Regions from separate parts of the Homo sapiens genome. Here regions 2, 3 and 4 are each linked to region 1. Evidence: promoter capture Hi-C in 16 types of primary human blood cells and fetal thymus (Javierre and others, 2016). All regions are on one chromosome and are shown on one strand. Each heading gives the region's core, a stretch centred on a gene start or on the middle of the fragment in contact. The rest is flanking DNA. Distances are from core to core; before and after follow the strand shown. Region 1 holds the start of CLEC3B (C-type lectin domain family 3 member B). Region 2 holds the start of LIMD1-AS1 (LIMD1 antisense RNA 1). Region 3 overlaps LIMD1 (LIM domain containing 1). Region 4 overlaps LARS2 (leucyl-tRNA synthetase 2, mitochondrial).

Evidence for each region. The method cuts DNA at HindIII sites, captures the fragments that hold promoters and counts their contacts. A CHiCAGO score of 5 or more calls a contact.
Region 2: the fragment with the promoter of LIMD1-AS1 here is called in contact with the fragment with the promoter of CLEC3B in region 1 in 2 of 17 cell types (fetal thymus and naive CD4 T cells); the score reaches 5.5 in fetal thymus.
Region 3: a fragment that was not itself captured here is called in contact with the fragment with the promoter of CLEC3B in region 1 in 1 of 17 cell types (erythroblasts); the score reaches 6.0 in erythroblasts.
Region 4: a contact is called between a fragment that was not itself captured here and the fragment with the promoter of CLEC3B in region 1, in 1 of 17 cell types (erythroblasts). The highest score is 5.6, in erythroblasts.

What each region holds. Positions count from the first base shown.
Region 1 is chr3:45,024,916-45,027,607 of GRCh38, reverse strand. It overlaps CLEC3B (C-type lectin domain family 3 member B), which reads right to left and starts at 1,305. Exons shown (of 3, transcript NM_003278.3): 1 at 1,137-1,305. The coding sequence starts at 1,245. RefSeq lists enhancers at 1-423, 424-925. The HindIII fragment of the contact is 8,892 bases long and covers 1-1,618 here.
Region 2 is chr3:45,687,538-45,690,229 of GRCh38, reverse strand. LIMD1-AS1 (LIMD1 antisense RNA 1) reads left to right here and starts at 1,348. Exons shown (of 3, transcript NR_033947.1): 1 at 1,348-1,854. SACM1L (SAC1 like phosphatidylinositide phosphatase) reads right to left here and starts at 834. Exons shown (of 20, transcript NM_014016.5): 1 at 733-834. The coding sequence starts at 764. TRR-ACG2-1 (tRNA-Arg (anticodon ACG) 2-1) reads left to right here and starts at 1,159; the gene lies at 1,159-1,231. RefSeq lists a silencer at 643-822 and enhancers at 853-1,142, 1,403-1,452, 1,963-2,032. The HindIII fragment of the contact is 5,339 bases long and covers 1-2,692 here.
Region 3 is chr3:45,669,622-45,672,313 of GRCh38, reverse strand. The region is part of intron 4 of LIMD1 (LIM domain containing 1); the gene reads right to left. Among named protein-coding and RNA genes, the nearest start is that of LIMD1-AS1, 18 kb to the left of the region's middle. The HindIII fragment of the contact is 418 bases long and covers 1,110-1,527 here.
Region 4 is chr3:45,547,236-45,549,927 of GRCh38, reverse strand. LARS2 (leucyl-tRNA synthetase 2, mitochondrial) reads right to left here. Exons shown (of 22, transcript NM_015340.4): 22 at 521-2,577. The coding sequence ends at 2,398. Among named protein-coding and RNA genes, the nearest start is that of LARS2-AS1, 39 kb to the right of the region's middle. The HindIII fragment of the contact is 2,249 bases long and covers 318-2,566 here.

The DNA.
Region 1 (2,692 bases), core at 56-2,555:
ACTCACTCTTGTGGATCCTTCCAGAAAGAACTTATGCACATACAAGTAAAAATGTATTATTATATAAATCCCTTTTTCAAAGCAAATGTCAGCATCATACTCATTCTCTTTTGAATGTTTCTTTTTTCACTTTGTAAACTGAATCTTGAAGATGATTTTTTTATCAGCAGCCAGATTTGCCCCATTCTTTGTCACAGTGTTGTGAGGCCCCATGGCCCCGATGTCCCTTTATGCACTGCACTAGTTCCTGGCCAGTGGGCAACTGTCCATTTATGAAGAGCCCCGGGAGGGCCTAAGGGAGGCCCCCACAGCCCCTTCTTTCCTTTTCTGTGCCCTTGGTCCTAGCTGCTTGTTTCTCTGCCTCAGTCCCCACCCTCATCCCCTTGGACTCTCTTCTAGCCTCTGCTCCCTGGGGGGGTGACAGCCCCGTCCATTGCCATGACATTCCACTGATGTTGTCTCAACACAGCCTGGGGTGACCTCACTGCAGGCGGGGCTGCAAGGGCAAGTCTTGCTGTAGCCAAAGCAACCGAGGGACACCCCAATCCCCAGAGGCTACAAAGCAGAGCAAAGCTGCTTCTGGTGGACTAGTCTGAGTTACATTTATTTCCTGAAGGCTGTGATATGCTACAGAAATGAGAATTCATTTCTTCTTCTTTTTCTTTTCCCTGTGCATCAAGCAACAAGTGAGGTGCCTTTATATATTTTGTATCATAAAATCTTCATGAGAAGTCTTTGAACAAATACCACTGTCCCCATTTTACAGTTGAGAAAACAGGTTGGAAGACTCCAAAGCCCAGCCTGTGCAGCTCTCCCTGGTAAGGGCTGAGCGCTGCCAGACTCCCAGGCCAAAGGTTTGGTTTCTTTAAAATATTGGGGATGAGGGGAGGAGAGAAGAGCAAAGATCAGTTTGGATGATCTGGAAGGTTCTTCCCAACTCTAAGGGTCAGGGATTCTTATGATTCTGACAACCAACTCTGCTATGAGAGAACTCCCCCAAGCCCCAAAGCCCACTTTACTCAAGTTCCCTAGATGACTCAAAAGGAGGAAAATGAAGGAAAGGAGCATGAGGACACACTAAGGAGAGGGGGACCTGCTCCCTGGAAGATGGCACAGGGCTCTGTCCCCCTCCTTACCTTTCTTGGCATTTACAATCTTCTTGGGCTTCTGGGTTGGTGGCTCGGTGGTGACCTGGGTCAGGAGGGAGAAGAGGCAGAGGAGGAGGTAGGCCCCCCAGAGCTCCATGCTGCTGCGCGGGCGGGGGCTGCTGCTGCCTGCAGCGGGTCTGGGTCCGAACGCAGTGACAGCCACGGCCCAGGCTGCACGTCTTAAGGCAGCAGCCAAAGGACCTCTGTCCAGGAAACCCTCCCCAACTTGGCTGCAGGCGTGCCAAAAAAATAAAACAAACACACAAGCCTGCAGAAGGATGAAGTCCTGAGGGCCACAGAGCCTCTCTGCCAGGGAACACCCACGCAGCATCCTGGCCCTGCCTTCTAGAAAGAAGCCCTTATTTCCTAGGATTCTGAGAAACACACGGTGGTTGTCATCACATCTGCGGAGCAGCTACCTTGGGTAGGGGCTGAGGCTGGCTGTTCACTAACATTAACTCACAGAAGCTTCACACCCAAACCACGAGGGAAGCACTGTCCTTTCCCCATTTTACCATTGAGGAAATTGAGGCTCGGTGAGGTTAGGGAATTTGCCCAGGCTACCCAGCTGTCACGGGGTAGCAATGCCCCCTTATAGGGTGATCTGGGGCTGGCTGTCTGATTGGTTTAGAATATTTGTTATGATTATTTTGTGGCTCTGTCTCCATGTACTTGATGCATTTTTTGGTTAAAAAATCCAAGGGATTCCTTCCCTTCTTGTCTTCCCTTTCTCCTGAGTCCTGTCCTAAAGCCACAAAGTGGGGCATAGCAAAGGTGGCGGAGGGAGAAGCCATCGTGCCCCAGAGGTACCAGAGAGGATGTGGGGAGAATGTGCCCTCAAGGGGTGGACTGGTGTGGGGTGTGGGAGCCCAGCAGGGTGGAGGGAGCATCCTGGGGAAAGCAAAGGCCCTGCCTGGAGTGCTGGAGTCCAAGTGAGGCAAGGAGGGGATCCATGTGGGAGAGAGGCTGGTGGCAGAGACGGGAGATTGGTTACACACAGGGATACTGATCAAATAAATCTACTGAAGACAGTGGGAGTTAGGTTTCCTATTGTCAGAGAAGGAAGTTATGTATATGGAGAGAAAACTGGAATGAATCCTGTTGTGTGGGATTAAAATCGGAATGATCAGTGTACCCTTGTGGCCTTGAATACATAAAGATAAGTCCATATATATAGATGGAAATGTGTGTGTGTCTAGTCCCCACAGTCACTGGGGGGCCTGGAGCAGCCAGCCCCGCATAGCCTGGAGCACTCCTAGCACCTGAATACTGGCTTCTGAATATGACTTTCCACTAAAGGAACCAGAGCACCTTGCAGAAACGGCTGATTCTAGCACTGGGAAGTAGGAGTGGGGTGCAGAAAATGAGCCCGGAACTTGTTGTTTTGCCAGAAAACAAGGAAGTGCTTAATGAATAATGGGAACACGTCAGTAGGACACAGAGCCAGCTTGAAGGAGCCTTCAGTGGTCAGAATCAGGGACAATTTGAGCACCAACATAGTGACAGTAACAGATGGGAAACCACCAGTGCACACAGATATAAGT
Region 2 (2,692 bases), core at 99-2,598, 660 kb before region 1:
CAAACCAAAACCCTTAAAAACACCTATTTTATAACTCTTAACAACCACAGCCTCTGTATCAAAGACTCAAGAACTTGGATTTACCGAAAAGTCAATTTGCAGTACCAAAATTACCGAGATTAGCCTCTGGCTGTCGACACTGACTTAAGAACCTGCTTTAGGCTGGAGCTGTTTAAAATTTAAACCAAAGTAAACTCCTTCAGGACCTTAAGACTACTGACTGTACTTTAAATTTTTTCTGCACACTGAAGAGGGGGCAGGCAGGCTTCGGTACCCAGATAGGCTGTAAGCAAAACAAAGATTTGTTGATTTGTGCGTAGACTCTAAATTGCTGCTGTAGGTCCGTTAAGTAAGAGAAAACTCTTTTTCTCTGTTAAGTCATACAGATAAATTTAGTCGGTAGCTCTGCATAGAAAGTGGGGACAAGCGTGCCCTGAAGGGCCGCATCATAACGCCGACCCCGGCTCGGTGGGGGCCAGTCGGCAGCTTCTCTCTTCAGCCGTGGGCGCTGGGGCCGAGCACGGTGGAGAAAGGCCGGCGAGCCGCTGGTTCCCGGCCTATGGCTACTCGGGCGAGGCCTAGGAGAGGCCGCGCCGGCTGAGGAAAACCGGTAAATGCGAGGAGCTCCCACACCCTATCTGCAATCCGGGACTCAGAAGCCCTCCCCGAGGCCAGGGCCCGCACCTGCCGCCCCGCCCGCCGCGCCTCAGGCCTCTGGCCCGTGGGACTCACAGCTTCAGCTGCTCGTAGGCCGCCGTCGCCATCCTGCACAACCACCTCCTTCCTTCTCTCTCCGCCCGCCCCGCCCCGCGCCGCCACCTCGGCTACAACTCTACCGGTCACCCTGGCACAGCGGCCGCAGCTCCCAGCCTCTTCCCACCCCTTTCCCCGCCCCGCAGGAGAGCCGGCCTGAACGGGAGGCGGTGGAGGACAAATTAGTGCGCAAGCAAGAGCACGCGAGAGATGCCGCCGACGCGGCGGGTTGGAGTGCGACGAAGAGCGCCGTGACGAAGCCGCTGCGGATTGGTGGGGCGCGTTTTGGGGAAAGGCAGAGCAGCGGGAGCGCGGCGCAAGGGCAAAATGGATCGTTGGTACCCGGAAGCCCGTTCAAACTGTATAAGGGTGATCAGCTATCACGGAGAAGGCTTTAGCAAGTCGGGGCCAGTGGCGCAATGGATAACGCGTCTGACTACGGATCAGAAGATTCTAGGTTCGACTCCTGGCTGGCTCGCGATGTCTGTTTTGCCACACTTGACCCATGTACTACTGGGTCTTGTAAAGATGTATATTCACAATGTGAAAGTATTACAAGACCTTGGAAAGGTGTATGGTTAGAATGTGAAAGTTAAATATCTGAAATTTTGATGCCGCTTTGCTCACAATGTCATCCTTTATCCTTTAAACCTGGAGTTGTCTGAGGTGGTTTGCAAACTGCAAAGCGCCCTGTTCCCAATGATGCACCTGAGAAGTCTGTAAATGGGGTAAATTTAGGCAAACACACCTGGAAAAGTGGCATTTTGGAGTGGGGAATGCTGTGGCCGGAGGTTAGCAACCGGATGATGCAAAAGCGTATTTAAGGCAGCAGTTCTGGCCTTTCCCCGCCACGGAGCAGAAGCCCCCATAGTGATGTGAGAAGCGGCGCTGTCCCAGTTTACTAGGATGGGATGGGCTTTGGATCTAACCAGCAGCGAAGAAAACCTGCGGTGCGGCTGCGCTCGGTAGTAGGGGTCCACAAAGCGTCAGAATCTGCAGCAGCCCCGGCCTTTGCGAGCTCCAGCTCCGAAGTCAACCCGGCCCCCAAATTCCACTGGGAAACCTTAAGACACCGGTGTTTTTACCGTAAGAAGACCTCAGGTAATCTAGTATATTACCCCTCATTGTATGGATGCGCGACTTGGACACCCGAGAAGGCGCGAAACGTCTGCGGCCTAAAGGGACTCGAACCGGGGGATTATATGAGTCATCGGACACTGTCCGTTAACCAATCACTCAATCGATCAATTAATTTCCGCAACATAACGTTTTCCCCTGATAAAATTATAGATTTTTAAAATATATAAAATTATTGGGAATATTAACGCGATTCCCACCCTAAATCATTACTATTATTTTTTTTTTCCTTAAAGCCTTTTTTTCTTCTATATTTTTTAACATGGGCATACTTGCACATGTGTTTTTCCAAATTGGGGTTGTACGGAAATGGGTTCCTCATTTTGTCTCCTTACCTTTTTGTCTGAGATTTAAGGTCATTAAATATTCTTTGAAGATATTTCATCAGAGAGCTAGATATTTTAAGCAGAATCCTTATGCTGGGAATTTGGGTGGTTGTCAGTTTAACACCTAGAAAAAATGATGCTGCTTAGGAGTTCGAGACCAGCCTGGGCAACATAGCAAGACCTCATCTCTATTTACTAAATAAATAAATAAATTTTAATTAGCCAGGTGTGGTGGTGTGCACCTATAGTCCTAGCTACTCAGGAGGCTGAGGTGGGAGGATCACCTCAGCCCAGGAGGTTGAGGCTGCAGTGAGCTGTTACCATGCCACTGCACTCCAGCCTGAGCAACAGAATGAGACCCTGTGTTGAATTATTATTATTTTGAGACGGAGTCTCGCTCTGTCACCCAGGCTGGAGTGCAGTGGCGTGATCTCGGCTTACTGCAGTCTCTGCCTCCCGGGTTCAAGCAATTCTCC
Region 3 (2,692 bases), core at 69-2,568, 640 kb before region 1:
CGATGCAAAGCAGGGCCACAGAAGGATACATCCTTCCCAGATTTGGGAAGCAGCAAGTACTCGGAAAAATGAAAAGAAATTCCATGTGGAAATGGCAGAGCTCAAAAGGAACCCCTTCACTTCTGCCTCTTGGATGCCCCTTCTATGCAGCTTTGACTCTGGAGCATGATAATCTAGAAGTTCTGACTCAACCCAATGACCTCAAATCCAAGTGTAATAAGTAAAGTTTCTCTGTTGTTGTTTTTAAACGCAATAGAGGGAAAGCCCCACAAACTTCTTCCTCTCAGTGTCATTTAATCTGGATCTGGATGGGATACCTGGAACTGCCAGAGCCAACCTGAAACCAGGACAGACCCAAGACATGGACAGCAGGAAAGAGAAGAGATGGAAAGAACATCCTTGGTGAGGTCCGTAAGTAACTGAATTAACTCATCATGGAACCACATACCTCCAAGCCTCTTTTTAGGTGAGATAAAATATCATTCCTATGAAGTCAGTGGTCCTCGAAATGTGTGTGGCCCCAGACCTTCAGCATTAGCATCACCTGCAAACTTGTTAATAATGCACATTCTTGGACCCCATCCCAGATTTCTTGAATCAGAAACTCTGGGGGTAAGGCCCAGCAGTTGGTATTTTAATAGGGTGATTCTGATATATATTAAAGTTGGAGGATCATTGGTTTAACTCGAACTGAGTCTGGGTTTTTTCTATAATTTGCAGTTGAAAGCATCTTCACTGACTTAATAGGAGATTCATTTCTGCAATTACCTGCATCATGAAACTTAGCAAAAACAACTGAACTACAGAATCAACATGAGCAAGGTCACACCAAAACATGCATCTGCAAAGAATGTACAGAACGGTCATCAGCATCCAGCAGTGGGAGCCCACACAGAAAGCCTTCAAACAGGCTGAAGAAAGGGGATTTTGGATTTGGGGAAGCCTTGTCAGTACACTGTGAGACCCAGGGGTAAAGATATGCTGTGTTACAGCTCCTTCCCCTGGAAGCCTCAGGCGGATAACTCCACACTGCACAAGCTCCAGCCAAGAAGGCAAGAGGAGGGCGTTGTGCTATTCCAGCTTTCCTCTGAATGCTCAGCTTTCAAGCTTCCTCATTCCCTCTTGGGTTTCCCTAACCTTTGAGGGCCCTCTCAATCTGCAGTAAGGCAAAACAGGAAGAACAACTGGCTGGGCTTCCAAAACCCATTTGGCAATTTGGACCTTGGAATGCATTTTCCCCAAGATGAATGCTGTCTTGGCAGAAAGAGATCCTTAAATTAATTTAATCCACATTGTGCCTAAAGTAAGATTAGAAAAAGATGCCATTTTGCTGCATTGTGACTAGCTGTAATACTTTTTTTATGTGAGACTATGCCTGGTTCTAACCTGCAAGCCCAGAATGTACCCCTCTATTAACAAAAGGGTATATAGAGAGACAATTTACACAAAGAGTTAGACAGCTGGGGTTCTGTCTAGACATTCACTAAAAGTTTTCAAGTCCTAGGGAAGACCTGAAAGACTGAAGCTTCAACTTCATACTATCCCATATGGTAGAGATCTCACATCAAGAGATGGGGACTATTTCCCCCTCCCCTTGAATCAGAACTGGCTTTGTGACTTTCTTTAATTAACAGAAAGCAGAAGAAACAATGTTCTGAGATTTCTGAGTCAAAGGCTTAAGAAGACTGGTAGCTTCCACTTCCTATCTCTTGCTGTAAGGAAGTCTGAACTAGACTACTGAATGATTAGAGGCTACAGGGAGAGGGGCCTGGAGGGTGAGAGGTCATCTTGGATGTTCCAGTTCAACTGTGCTACCAGCTGAACAAAGTTAAGTAGGAGACCCCAGCCAATGCCACACAGAGCAGAAGAATTGGCCTGCTAAACCCTGACCTAAATCCTGACCCACAGCATGAAGCATGATGATAAATAAGAAATCACTATTGTTTTAAACTACAAAGTTTTAGGGTGGTTTGTCATGCAGCAATAGATAAATGACATACCCTGAGGTTATCCAAAGAAGTCTTAGGATTACTAGAACTAAGAATAGGGTATAATCATACTCATAAATTCAGAGCATGTTGACTTCATATGAAGTAGGTTTGTCAGAAGGACACTAAAAACAAAGGCAAATTCTGCTAAAGAAATAGAGCCCTACAGAGTCTAGAAGATACCTGGGAAGGAGAGGTAAGCATATGTAGCTTCTGCCTACCTCCCACTGCGAGCATGGGGGAAGGGCCACGTTTCCCAGGGAGGTCTTGGCTACTAATGAGGACATGGCTCTAATAGGGCTAAGACCTCTGCTGAGGTCTGTCAAAGCCTGGGAGATAGCAGATATTCATCACGAATGGGGAGGGCTGTGGGTCACTGATGTTTTATAAATATTAGCATATAACCAGCAGAAATGAGTGTTTATGTCCATCAAAGACATGTTCAAGAGTATTCACAGCAGCTTCATGCATAAATAGCAAAAAACTAGAAACCACCAAATCCCCATCAACATGAGATGGAGAAATAAATTGTGCTATATCCATACAATGGAATTCCACTTAGCAATACAAATCAATAAACTACCAATACAGGTAACAGCATGGATGAAGCTCAAAAACATATGTAATAAGACCTGAAAGAGTCTATACTATATGTTTCTATTTATATGAAGTTCCAAAACCAGCAAAATGAATTTCTGGCAATA
Region 4 (2,692 bases), core at 193-2,692, 520 kb before region 1:
AGGACAGAAGATGTGGGCTTGGATCCCAGTTCTCCTACTTATTAGCTGTGAAAACTGAGACAATTATTGAACCTCAGAGCCTGGGTTTCTTCTTTTATGAGAGAATAATTCCTTCCCTCTAGAGTTTTTGTGGGAATTAAATAAGATAATTATTGTGAACCTGCTGAGTCCAGTTTCTGACCTCAACAAGACAGTCAATAAATGGCTGAGATTATTCCCCACCACCTCACTCCCAGGGGTCAGAGTTTTCTGTCCAGTTGTTCCATTACCCATACTGTCTCTTAGTATGTACTGATGAGCTCTTGTTTGCAAAAGCTTTATCCTCTTGGAGCAATTTCTTCAGAGCCATGCTGGTGTCAGCCAGCTGGTCAGTCTAGCAGCCTTGAGGCTTTACTGGCCCATTGCTCTGGTCAGATCACATGCAAATAAAGGGCTCCCTTCCCTCATCTTGTTCAAGACCACTTAGCTTACTAGGAAATAACAAGATAATCAAAATCACTCACTCCTTCCTTGTACCAAATATTTTCATGGGCTTATATTTAATCCATATTCACTGCCATGTGCAATGAGACTGAGTACATTCAAGTCGGCTCTAGCACTCTAGACTTCTGGCCCCTGTCTTCCCTTTTGGTCCAACTCTTGGTCCTGGACCAAACTTATCCCCGCTAACCTGAAGATTAGGAAGAGGAAGAACTAGATAGAAATGATGGCTCAAGTGCATCAATGTGTCCAGTGATTCTCAAACTTTGCTGCCCATTAGAATCACTTGTGGAGTTTTAAAGATTCCTGGTGTTCAAGCCACACCATGGACCAATTAAATTGGAATATCTGGGCATGAGGACCAGGCAGAGTATTAAGTCTGAGAACCAGTGACTTAATTGCTGTTGCTAGTTTGCCTGTATCAGTGTTGTCTACCATGGACTGTAAGTTCTGGAACAAGAAGAACCACATGTATCCCACTTTATAGCATTCCATGTGGAGTCAGACACACAGCCAATGCTTCCGATGATGATGGAATACCTCAATCTGTTTGTAATTAACTCTGAAATTGGAATATGGTGTATTCCAGGATCACACATATGTCCTGAAGTCATAGATGATAAACATTTTATTACACTAAAAAAGTCATCTGTTAACTGCTGAACTGCAGGGGGACCACATGTGAGGCTACTTCAGAAAAATGGCATCAGATAACATATATAGATTTCTGGCATTATAAAATGGCTAGATTCTCCCCTACCTTCCCTCATTAAATATTAATCAGTGGCTTAGGTCAGTTCTAGTGGGAACACTTAATTGCTGACTTCACATAAAACCAGGATTAGCCTAATGTGCCAATGGTATGAGTCCATTCCTGGCCATCTTCCCAACAGCCAGACCGCTGTGGCTTGGACACCGGAGGCAACATCTGGGGGGCCTCAGTTCCACTCCTCTGTGGTGAGCTTGCTCTTCCTAATAACTGGCTCTGGAGTCACATCAACAATGGTGGCATTGCCATCTGGGGCCCACATGAGCCCTCTGGGGCGTGCTGCATCCCTACTGGGCTGCGGTGGGGCTCTGAGGTTGGGACCAGCAGCCTGAGCCTGGTTCCACTTCACTACACAGCAAATTGTATACCCAAGGGAGTGGTTATGACTTGCTGCTCCTCATTCATGTGAGGAAGTGGTGCCTTGCCTGGGATCCTGTGTGTCAGAACCACAGCAGGCCTGGGAGGCACATCCAGCTGGGGTTGGGGAGGACAGGCCTGCATGACAGAGCTGGGGAGTGGTGGGGACACAGGCAGAGGAACCAGCACTGCCTGCCTTTTGATTCAAAGCAACTTCAGAAGATCCCTGTGTCCATTTCCACATATTGGTTATTTGAACATTTCCTAAATGACTTCCTCATCCAGCCTGAAGGCAAAGAGACCATTCACTACCATCTGGAGGCTCAGTTAGCAGTTCCAAGTGGCTGGCACATTGCACCTGAGTCCTGCAGTTCCTCAGGCTGGCCTCAAATTCCCGAGAAGTGCCTAAGGCAGAGCCATTTCCCAGATCCGCAGGCTTCCTGGCTGCTCGAGGGGCACTGCTCCTTCCTGCTCCCACCAGCAGTGTCTCTGATGGCTTCCCATGGGATCAGATGGCCTCCTCTACCTGCAGTGTGGGTGGGGGGTGAGGGGCAGGATGTCCAACCCCCTCCTCAGTAGCTCATATTTCTCCTTTGCCCAGCTCACCTTCACCCCAGCACCAGGCCACACTACAGAGGCACACTGTTGACTGCAGTCTGCCACAGGACCGAGGTCAACAGTCAAGACATTTGTCTTTTCCCTTCCCCTGGGCCAGCAGACATCGCCCCCTCATCCCAGGCCTGGAAGGAGGTTCCTCAGAGGCCCTCGTGGTAGCTGCAGCCTCCTGGCTGTCAATCTTGCACCAGGAAGTTGATGAGGGCAGTTCTCGGGGAAAGGAAGGACTTCTTGATGCTTCGTCCTTGCAAAAGCCTGACACCCAGCTCGCTTTGAAGAACAAATTCGTGGACTTTGTCCTGGTCCCGGGCAACTTGTTGGGGCACAGGAATTTTGCCACAAGCTTTATTGTTGATCTGAGAAGGAGAAAAGCCAAGATAAACAATGAGGAACATCCTCAGAGTGGCAGGCGGCCCAATACCAAACCTCCTGCCTGTAAAGGGCATGGCTGCATTTGTTTAGGGGAAAGGA